2 separate regions of the Homo sapiens genome follow, and region 2 is linked to region 1. Evidence: promoter capture Hi-C in 16 types of primary human blood cells and fetal thymus (Javierre and others, 2016). All regions are on one chromosome and are shown on one strand. The core of a region is centred on a gene start or on the middle of the fragment in contact, and the rest is flanking DNA. Distances in the headings are between cores, read along the strand shown. Region 1 holds the start of C9orf153 (chromosome 9 open reading frame 153). Region 2 overlaps AGTPBP1 (ATP/GTP binding carboxypeptidase 1).

Evidence for each region. Contacts are between HindIII fragments. The CHiCAGO score rates a contact against its expected background, and 5 or more counts as called.
Region 2: a fragment that was not itself captured here is called in contact with the fragment with the promoter of C9orf153 in region 1 in 1 of 17 cell types (total CD8 T cells); the score reaches 6.4 in total CD8 T cells.

The regions. Positions count from the first base shown.
Region 1 is chr9:86,258,407-86,263,030 of GRCh38, reverse strand. C9orf153 (chromosome 9 open reading frame 153) reads left to right here and starts at 3,374. Exons shown (of 4, transcript NM_001276366.4): 1 at 3,374-3,481. It also overlaps the pseudogene RN7SKP264. The HindIII fragment of the contact is 3,437 bases long and covers 2,576-4,624 here.
Region 2 is chr9:85,653,905-85,658,528 of GRCh38, reverse strand. It overlaps AGTPBP1 (ATP/GTP binding carboxypeptidase 1), which reads left to right. Exons shown (of 26, transcript NM_001330701.2): 10 at 886-1,094; 11 at 3,209-3,386. Among named protein-coding and RNA genes, the nearest start is that of AGTPBP1, 86 kb to the left of the region's middle. The HindIII fragment of the contact is 3,037 bases long and covers 590-3,626 here.

The DNA.
Region 1 (4,624 bases), core at 2,125-4,624:
TGTTCGTTTAGCATCGGGCAGGTCAGAATTATTTTTGCAAAATGGCTCCATCCTACGGCCATGTCACACCATGTCATGCAAGCCTTAGCCCTCACCAGGAAGGTTCTGTCTGTTGCACCACATTCATCCACATTCTACTCACAAACACTGGTCATTGTGTTAGGCGATTTGGTAGTGCCCCTGGGTGATGTGTAGGCCAGCAGATCTGTCGCTTAGCAGCAGACTTCAGGCTTTTCATGATCAGTTATAAGCCCACTCTTCCACATCAGGATGCTAAATTGAATGAATCAGGCCATGAGGACAGAGGCCTGCTGTGCTTCATTGTTGCAGGGCGCCTCCCAGCCCTCTGTCACCGGACCCACCAGAATGATTTTTTTTTTCTCAAACAGGAAAGGGTTGGGAACAATCCCTACAAGATCAGATGTCCCTAAGATTTCCAGTATTTCCTAGGTTTCACTCAGCAGGAAATACCTCAAAAAAAAAATGGCCTTTCTTGTCATGTTTTGATACCTGAGAAATCAGGAAATGGAAAAGCCTGTGCTAAGCTGAGCTGTAAGCAACATCAGTGTCTCATTTGAGCCTTAGAGCAGACGTGGCATGGGCCAGACACAGCATCGACCCAGAATAAACCCAAATACAGCTCACCTGAGCTCAGTGCAGGCTGGGAGGCTGGCCTGGAAAGGTGTAGGTTTGGGGTGAGATATGCCTGGATTTGAATCATGGTTCCTGTCATTTTGTAGCCATGTAACCTTCTGTAAAACAGTCTCAGAATTTGGGGGGATGTGATGAGCTAACTACACATAAATGGCATCCTGCTAAGGGTAGACGTTTCATACGTTGTAATTCTTGTCCCTTTTAGCCATTTTCTTGTGCAAAAAGGGATAATATGTTAATGGATTATCAATCAAAGCAAGAGCTTAGGGAAAGAGTTTCAACACATTTAGGGAGTTATTGTCCCATATTCAAATCTGGGGGAAATTTGCTGTATTTCCTTCAAATAAAAGACCACAGTAACTTCTTTGAAAAGAACCATAAATTTCAAATATAAACATTCGGAGAAATTTCATTCTCTTAGTAGCTGATTAACTATAGACAAACCTGCCTTAATTGAGGAGCTGTTTTGAAAGCTCATTCCCCAGTAGGAACTCAATCTCCTGGTCCCAGGTGGGTCTCATCAGACAAGAGATGGAGGAGAGAGGGAGGTGCACCCTAGCCTCAGCCTCTATTGAAATACAGAGCCATGTGGTGGTTACATCACTGTGGACTCCCATCCTCCCTTGCTGCTGTGCAGTGTTCAGGGAAGGCTTCATTTCACACCAACCTTTAGCGGGGCAAGGGCTCTGTACCAGCGGTACTCAGCTTAAAACTAGCCTACTTTGAGGGCCTTGATGGGTTACTGCTTTTACTTCCACTAGCTAGTGATTCCGAAACTTTTCATGATGAAGTGCCCATTTATTGGGCCAGGTGTGTTGGCTCAAGCCTGTAATCCCAGCACTTTGGGAGGCAAAAGTGGGCAGATCACCTGATCCCAGGAGTTCAAGACCAGCCTGGGCAACGTGGTAAAACGCCGTCTCTACAAAAAATACAAAAATTAGCTGGTCATGGTGGTACATGCCTGTAGTCCCCGTTGCTCAGGAGACCAAGGTGAGAGGATCACTTTAGCCCAGGAGGTAGAGGTTGCAGTGAGCCAAGATCGTACTACTGCACTCCAGCCTGGATGACAGAGCAAGACCCTGTCTCAAAAAAAAAAAGAATAAAAAATAAAGTACTCATTTTTTGTTCTCCATGGATTCTATGTCTTGAAGCAGTCCTCAAACTTTAAGGTGCAAATAAGTCACCTGGGGGTCTTGTTAAAAAGCAGATTCTTGGCCGGGCGCAGTAGGTAGCTCACGCCTGTAATCCAGCACTTTGGGAGGCTGAGGCGAGTGGATCACTTGAGGTCAGGAGTTCGAGACCAGCCTGGCCAACATGGTGAAACCCCATCTCTACTAAAAATACACAAAAATTAGCCAGACATAGTGGTGGGCGCCTCTAGTCCCAGCTACTCAGGAGGCTGAGGCAGGAGAATCACTTGAACCTGGGAGGTGGGGAGGTTGCAGTGACATGAGATGGCACCACTGCATTCCAGCCTGGGTGACAGAGCAAAACTGTCTCAAAAAAAAAAAAAAAGCAGATTCTGTAACAAAGGTCCAGGGCAGAGCCTGAGATTCTGCATTAGTAGCAAAGGCCCAAGTGAAGCCAGTGCTGTTGCTCTGCAGAACACCTTTGAATGGCAGGCTTTTGAAATATTTTCTCATTGGAAGAATCTTCTGTATTTATTAAATTCTGCTTAAAATTATTAACTTTCTTGTATATCCATGTTCATAACAGCATTATTCACAATAGCCAAAAGGTAGGAACAACCCAGGTGTCCATTGACAGGGGACAGGGGGTGAGAAATTTATTTCATGGACACAGATTCAGGTGGAAAAGATGAAAAAGCTCTGGAGATGGAAGGCAGTGCAGGTGGCACAACAATGTGAATGTACTGAATGCCACAGAACTGTGTACCTAAAACGGCTTAACACGGTAAGCTTCATGTTATGGATATGTTGCCACGGTGTTCACAAGTTATTAACTCAATCAGACTATTTAAATGCCCAGTAGATTGCATTCTGGGGAAATGGCTGTTTCAGGAAAATTTTCAGTGATTGCCACAGGGACCTCCCATGGGTGGGGAATGGAGTCTGGAGCACGGCTGCATGGCTCATGGAGAGAATTTGCACAGCCAGGTAGCCCCTGGTCCACTTCTACCCATATCTGGCCAGGTGCAAAGAGCATAGCTGTACCTTCTATTATCTCTCTCAATTTCTTATTTGCACTTTGCCCATGTCTATAGAAGGAAAAACTTGACTGATTAAAAATTACATTCACGGCACCTGTAGTCCCAGCTACTCAAGAGGCTGAGGCAGGAGAATGGCGTGAACCCGGGAGGCGGAGCTTGCAGTGAGCTGAGATCGTGCCACTGCACTCCAGCCTGGGCGACAGAGTGAGACTCCATCTCAAAAAAAAAAAAAAATTATACTCACGCCAGCCTGGGCAACATGGCGAAACCCCATCTCTAGAGAAAAATACATAAATTAGCCAGGCGTGGTGGCGTGCGCCCGGGGTCCCAGCCACAAGCTGAGGCAGAAAAAAAAGTAGCTACTCAGCTACTCAATGTTCACTCTTTAAAAATGCTTTTCCATCATCCTCCACCGTCTCCCACCCCCCACCAAGCAGCAAGATAATTCCCCATCGCTTAGCATCATATAGCTGCTTATGTGACCTTGAGAATGTCCACATGTCACAATGGACAGTCACTTAACACTAAGCAATGACACATGCTAGGAGTGGGGCTGGGCCTTGGGGCTGCTGGATGAATGAGACCCAGCCTCTGCCCTGGGAGTGCAGAGACTCAAGACAGATATGACCACGTGAAGAGACAACTGTAAAACAAGTGGTAAGTGCATCTACAGCCATAGCCACGGGGCACTGTGAGACCACAGAGCAGTGAAAACTAAGCCAGTCTAGGCTTGGCAAGGAGAGATGGAGTGAGGTGGGCAGTGGCTAAGGTGGGAAGACCAGAGCTGGGAGGTGAGATGGGATTTGGGTTTATCTTTACCAATAAGGATGAGGAGCCTGTTTCATCTTCCTCCAGGCAGGTCACAGAAGCTGGAACCAGTTGATCGGGCCGAGCCTGCAGACTCCCTCATCCTTTCCGGCCTTCAACACTGATAGCTCTGCTCTCTCTCCCCAACCTCAGTGCCTTCATCCTCCCCTGTGTTCCCATGGATGCTTGGTCCTGACTTTGCACCTCTCCCTCACACCCAGTGTCCTTTGTTTTTCCTCTGCCACTTGGGAGGCTGATGGGAGGATCACCTGAGCCTGGGAGGTTGAGGCTGCAGTGACCTGTGTTCACGCCACTGCACTCCAGCTGGGGTGACAGAATGAGAGCCTATCTCAAAGAAAAAAAAAAAACACTGCTCTGTATGATACTATCAAAGTGGATATATGTAATTGCACATTGTGAAATCTCATAGAATGCACAACACCAAGAATGGACCGTAATGTAAACTGTGAAGTATGGGCTTTAGTTAGTAACCATGCATTGATACCGGCTCATCAAGTATAACAAACGTACCACACAAACATAAGTAGTAAAAAAAAAAGGGGAAAGCTGTGTGTATGGTGCAGAGAAGGGGGGTTGTGGGAACATTGTACTTTCTAACCAATTCTAAAATTGCTCTAAAATTTAAGTATATTAATATTTTTAAAAAAAGTTTCGTTAAATTAGCAATATAATAGTTGCTTACCCAAGAAAATTCAGGTTTTCAAATATTGCGTTTTAAAAGCAATTATTTCCGGATGTGAGGGTGATCTGGCTGCAACATCTGTCACCCCACTGATGGCCAGGGTTAATTTGTCTGATCTGGCTGGCTAGGTGGATGTCTCCTTCCTCCCTCATCCGTCCACATGCGTCCTTCCAGACGCTGCGGACAACCTTCCCCAACAGAGGAGGGCCGTTCTTTGGGCAAGGGTATATGAGTAGCTGCACTCCCCTGCTAGAACCTCCAAACAAGCTCTCTAAAAGTAATTACTTCAA
Region 2 (4,624 bases), core at 859-3,358, 600 kb after region 1:
TCTTGCACCCCTTATAATTAACCCACCAGAGCAGCATTGGGTGACTTGATATGTTGCTCTGATATGATTCCCTTGCCACTATCTTAGTAAAATGTGCCCTATGGTTAATAATTTTAAATACTAATACTTTTAAAAATAATAAAATTAGGTCAAACATGGATTTATTTGTTAATTCTACTCCAATAAAATTGAGTATTTACAAAAACCTTTAGTGTAGTTCTTATTGCAATAAAAATCTAATGACTAGAAAGCCAGAAAGCACTATTTTCTAATCATGTAATGCTCCTTAAATTTCATTTACTAAAAAAGTTACGGAAGTATTTTTTAATGAGCATTGTTATAGTATGAATATTTATATAATTGTGGAGTAATTAGAGCAATTAATTTTAGTGGAAACACAAAGTTTGCAATAGAAGCTACAATTCAATAGGGTTTATTTCAGTGGGAACATAAAGTTTGTAATAGAAATTATAAAAATGATAGCAGATCTTCTAAAAATCACATTCACAACTAGCAAGTAGAAAGCTTATACATTTCATTTGGTGTAACAAAAATCAGTATATTCATAAATTGTAAAATACCTGAAGCTTTTGTTAGTAAACAAAAGCCTTTAAAAAGATGTTCCTCTAATTTTAGTAAAGAGATTTTGATATTTATAAATCGTGAAACATTACACAGGCAGATTTTGGAAGAGGTTGTAATTTTCTCTCTGGAACTTCATATTTATTTTGTTAGAAAAAATATAAATATGTGCTTGTCATTTGTTTTGGAAAAAAGAATTATAAGTATCCATCACAATATTGAGGTAATATTTTAAATTTGATTATTCTACCACTCACTCTCGTCATTTAAAAAATATTCTTTCTCAATCTTCTTTTGTTAAAGAAACAAATGCCAGGAGAGCTGTAGACAGAGGATATGTCCAAGTGCTTTTAACAATTTATGTAGATTGGCACCGCCATGATAACCGGCATAGAAACATGCTCATTCGGAAAGGAATTTTACAGAGTTTAAAAAGTGTTACAAACATCAAGTTGGGAAGAAAAGCATTTATTGATGCCAATGGGATGAAAATTCTGTATAATACTTCGCAAGTGAGTTATTTTCTTCTTATTATTGTGATTATGTACTAATAATATGATTTGGTTGTTAAGAAAACTGAATTAGTGTGCAAATACTCAGAAACGTATACACAGGATAAATGCATTTTTCGAAAATCTTAAAAGTAAAAGACACAATTATTTCTCACATGTGACCTCAGGCTGAGTTGGAGGAAATGGTCAGTGCACAGCTCTGCAATGTGAAATTTTCTTTCTTTTTTTTTTTTTGTATTATTTTTTTTTTATTATTATACTTTTAAGTTTTAGGGTACATGTGCACATTGTGCAGGTTAGTTACATATGTATACATGTGCCATGCTGGTGCACTGCACCCACTAACTCGTCATCTAGCATTAGGTATATCTCCCAATGCTATCCCTCCCCTCTCCCCCCACCCCACAACAGTCCCCAGAGTGTGATATTCCCCTTCCTGTGTCCATGTGATCTCATTAAGGCAAAAGGAAGAAGTAGAAATTCATCCACTTAGCAAGAGGGGATTCCGTAAAGCCATGTTTTCTAGGATGTGTAGTTGGCTGTACTCGGTGTTGTTTGCTCCTCTCATGAGGTATCTGTGGATCCTTTACAGCCTGTAGAGCAGCTCTGTTGTCTGTGAGTATTCTGCACGTTTTCCTGCTGGATAGAGGCTTTTTTGAATAGAGAAGGTACAAAAATGAAACCTGGAACTGGGAATGCTATATCTGCCAGCCATTTTAAGCATAAACATTTTTGACAGTGTATTTAGTGAGATCCTTTCTAGTTGCTGTGCTGACTGTCAGCCATGGGGAATGAGGATGTTGCAATGCAACCCCCTCTCTTTTTTTTTTAAGAAAGCTATAATTATTAGAAAGAAATCTGTCTTTTTGAAAATATCAGCCAGTTATCTTGATTGTGCCCTCCTGGTCTCACACATGACAAACACAGTCTATTTTTATATGACAAGAGTTGAGATATCTGAACACATATTTTATGTTTACCTTAGTTTTTTCTTTTCTAGATCAATCATATGTACTTGTTTTTACTATTCCTAGTATAGACATTGATGGATATTTTATATATGAGAAAGAGTTAGGTCACTTGGTTTATGCCACTTAACATTTCTGAGCCTTAATTTCTCATTTGTTTTGACAGGTCAGATGTGAAAATGTATATGGAAACTTTTACAGTGTATCATAGTACCATCTAAATGTCAAATGTCACTAATAATACTGTTGTTATATGACGGTTTCATATCCCATGTCCCTTAACCCTTCTCCAGATTAGATACCAGGACAGCAAGTCAGACTCTTAAAACTTTATATTGTGGGCCAGGCGCAGTGGCTCATGCCTGTAATCCCAGCACTTTGGGAGGCCAAGGCGGGCGGATCACGAGGTCAGAAGATCGAGACCATCCTGGCTAACATGGTGAAACCTCGTCTCTACTAAAAATACAAAAAATTAGCCGGGCGTGGTGTCGGGCACCTGTAGTCCCAGCTACTCGGGAGGCTGAGGCAGGAGAATGGTATGAACCCAGGAGGCGGAGCTTGCAGTGAGCCGAGATAGCTCTACTTCACTCCAGCCTGGGTGACAGAGCGAGATTCCATCTCAAAACCAAAAACAAAGAAACAAAAAAACCTTTATATTGTGATATTCAGGCTATCCTTTTATAAGGTGAATAGCCAACTTATGAGAGGTATTATTGCATGATAACTGATACAGTTCTGAGGAAGGTTTGGTCAAATGCGTGTTTTTTTTTTTGTTTTTTAATTTCTTACACCTTTTAAATTTTCTTGCTTAATCCTTTTCCCCCTTTTCCCTTAAATTATCTTTTTTATTTTATGCCCTAGGCTTGCCAAGTGTCCCCCCAAGTCACTCCAAAGATGGTACTGATTTCTGCTTAGTGAAAATATTTAAGGAAAAGTTCTTCTGAATTTGCCACATGGGGTTCTTACTTACAGATAGATAATTCTGAATAGTAAAGCTATTTTGTAATTATTCTGTGTTAAAATATTGGTTTTTGAGATATTTGTTTCTAGAAAATTATTAATGTATGACACTTTTTGAACTAAAGTAAAATTGGTTCAGTTATTCATCAAAAACATTCTTTTTCTTTTTCTTTTTTTAAAAAACAGGAATGTCTGGCAGTCAGGACTCTGGATCCTCTTGTCAATACCTCCAGTCTGATAATGAGGAAGTGTTTCCCAAAAAATCGACTGCCACTCCCAACAATTAAAAGTTCTTTTCATTTCCAGTTGCCTGTTATTCCTGTGACTGGTCCTGTGGCTCAGCTCTACAGCTTACCTCCTGAAGGTAGGATCACAGGGTCACTGCTGCTTTTTGTGGGTTCTTAGAATTATGTGACCCTGTGATTTTCTTTTTATTTATGTCTAACTCCTCAGCAAAGGAAGGCCTTACTTAACGTGATAAACATTCACATTTTATTTTAGTTAAGCATTTCTTTAAATGTAAGAAATTGGAGGCTAATAATTAAGTGAAATGGTGTGGGATGTGTTGTATATATGCAAATGTGAATTGTGAAATAATTAAGCTTCACATAGGAATATTATTTGATAGCTTATGTACTTTTTTTTTGTTTTAATTTTTTTTTTTGAGACAGAGTCTTGCTCTGTTGCCCAGGGTGGAGTGCAGTGGTGCAATCTCGGCTCACTGCAACCTCTGCCTCCCGTGTTCAAGCAATTCTCCTGCCTCAGCCTCCTGAGTAGCCAGGATCACAGGCCTGTGCCACCATTCCCGGGTAATTTTTGTATTTTTAGTAGAGATGGGTTTTCGCCATGTTGGCCAGTCTGTTCTCAAACTCCTGACCTCAAGTGATCTGCCTGCCTCGGCCTCCCAAAGTGCTGGGATTACAGGTGTGAGCCACCACACCCGGCCCAACTTATGTATGTTTTTAAAGTGTAAAAATATAAACATTAAATGTCTAGGTAAATTATGTTCGGGTTTACATTTGTAGCTTTTCAGTGATTTTTTTTCTTAAGTTAAAAAAAAACAACCTAATCACCAAAATTACTATGGTTTTATGCTTAACAAAAACTTTCACATGACTTACTTGGATGAAAATATGAAATTATCTGAGGTAGGCTGTTTGTCATTTTCCATATAATACTGTAGGTATACAGTAGAGGAAGTAAGAGTTTATTTATATGGGGAAGAAGAATTTCTTTGACAACATCTACCAAAGTGAAAAAGAGAAAGTAGTCCTGGCTTTTAATAGAATTTCTATAGTATTTTCTTATCAGTTTATTACTTTTTTGAGAAAAAAAACGAAGATTCTTTATTTATATGTAAAATTCTTATTTGAAACAAGTGTTTTAAGAGAATTTTCAAGGAATTATATTAGTTTCATTATCCTTGATATAAATTTATTAATGGTATATGTCATAGGGTACACTATTATGATTTTATTTTTAAAATATGTAGTTATTAAAACAAGTTGACACAACATATCAAAATGGATTATTTAGAAACCTCCTTTAAAATGTTGAAAAGTCTAAGACTAAGTCTAGGACTTATGAGTAAGAAAGCTAAGT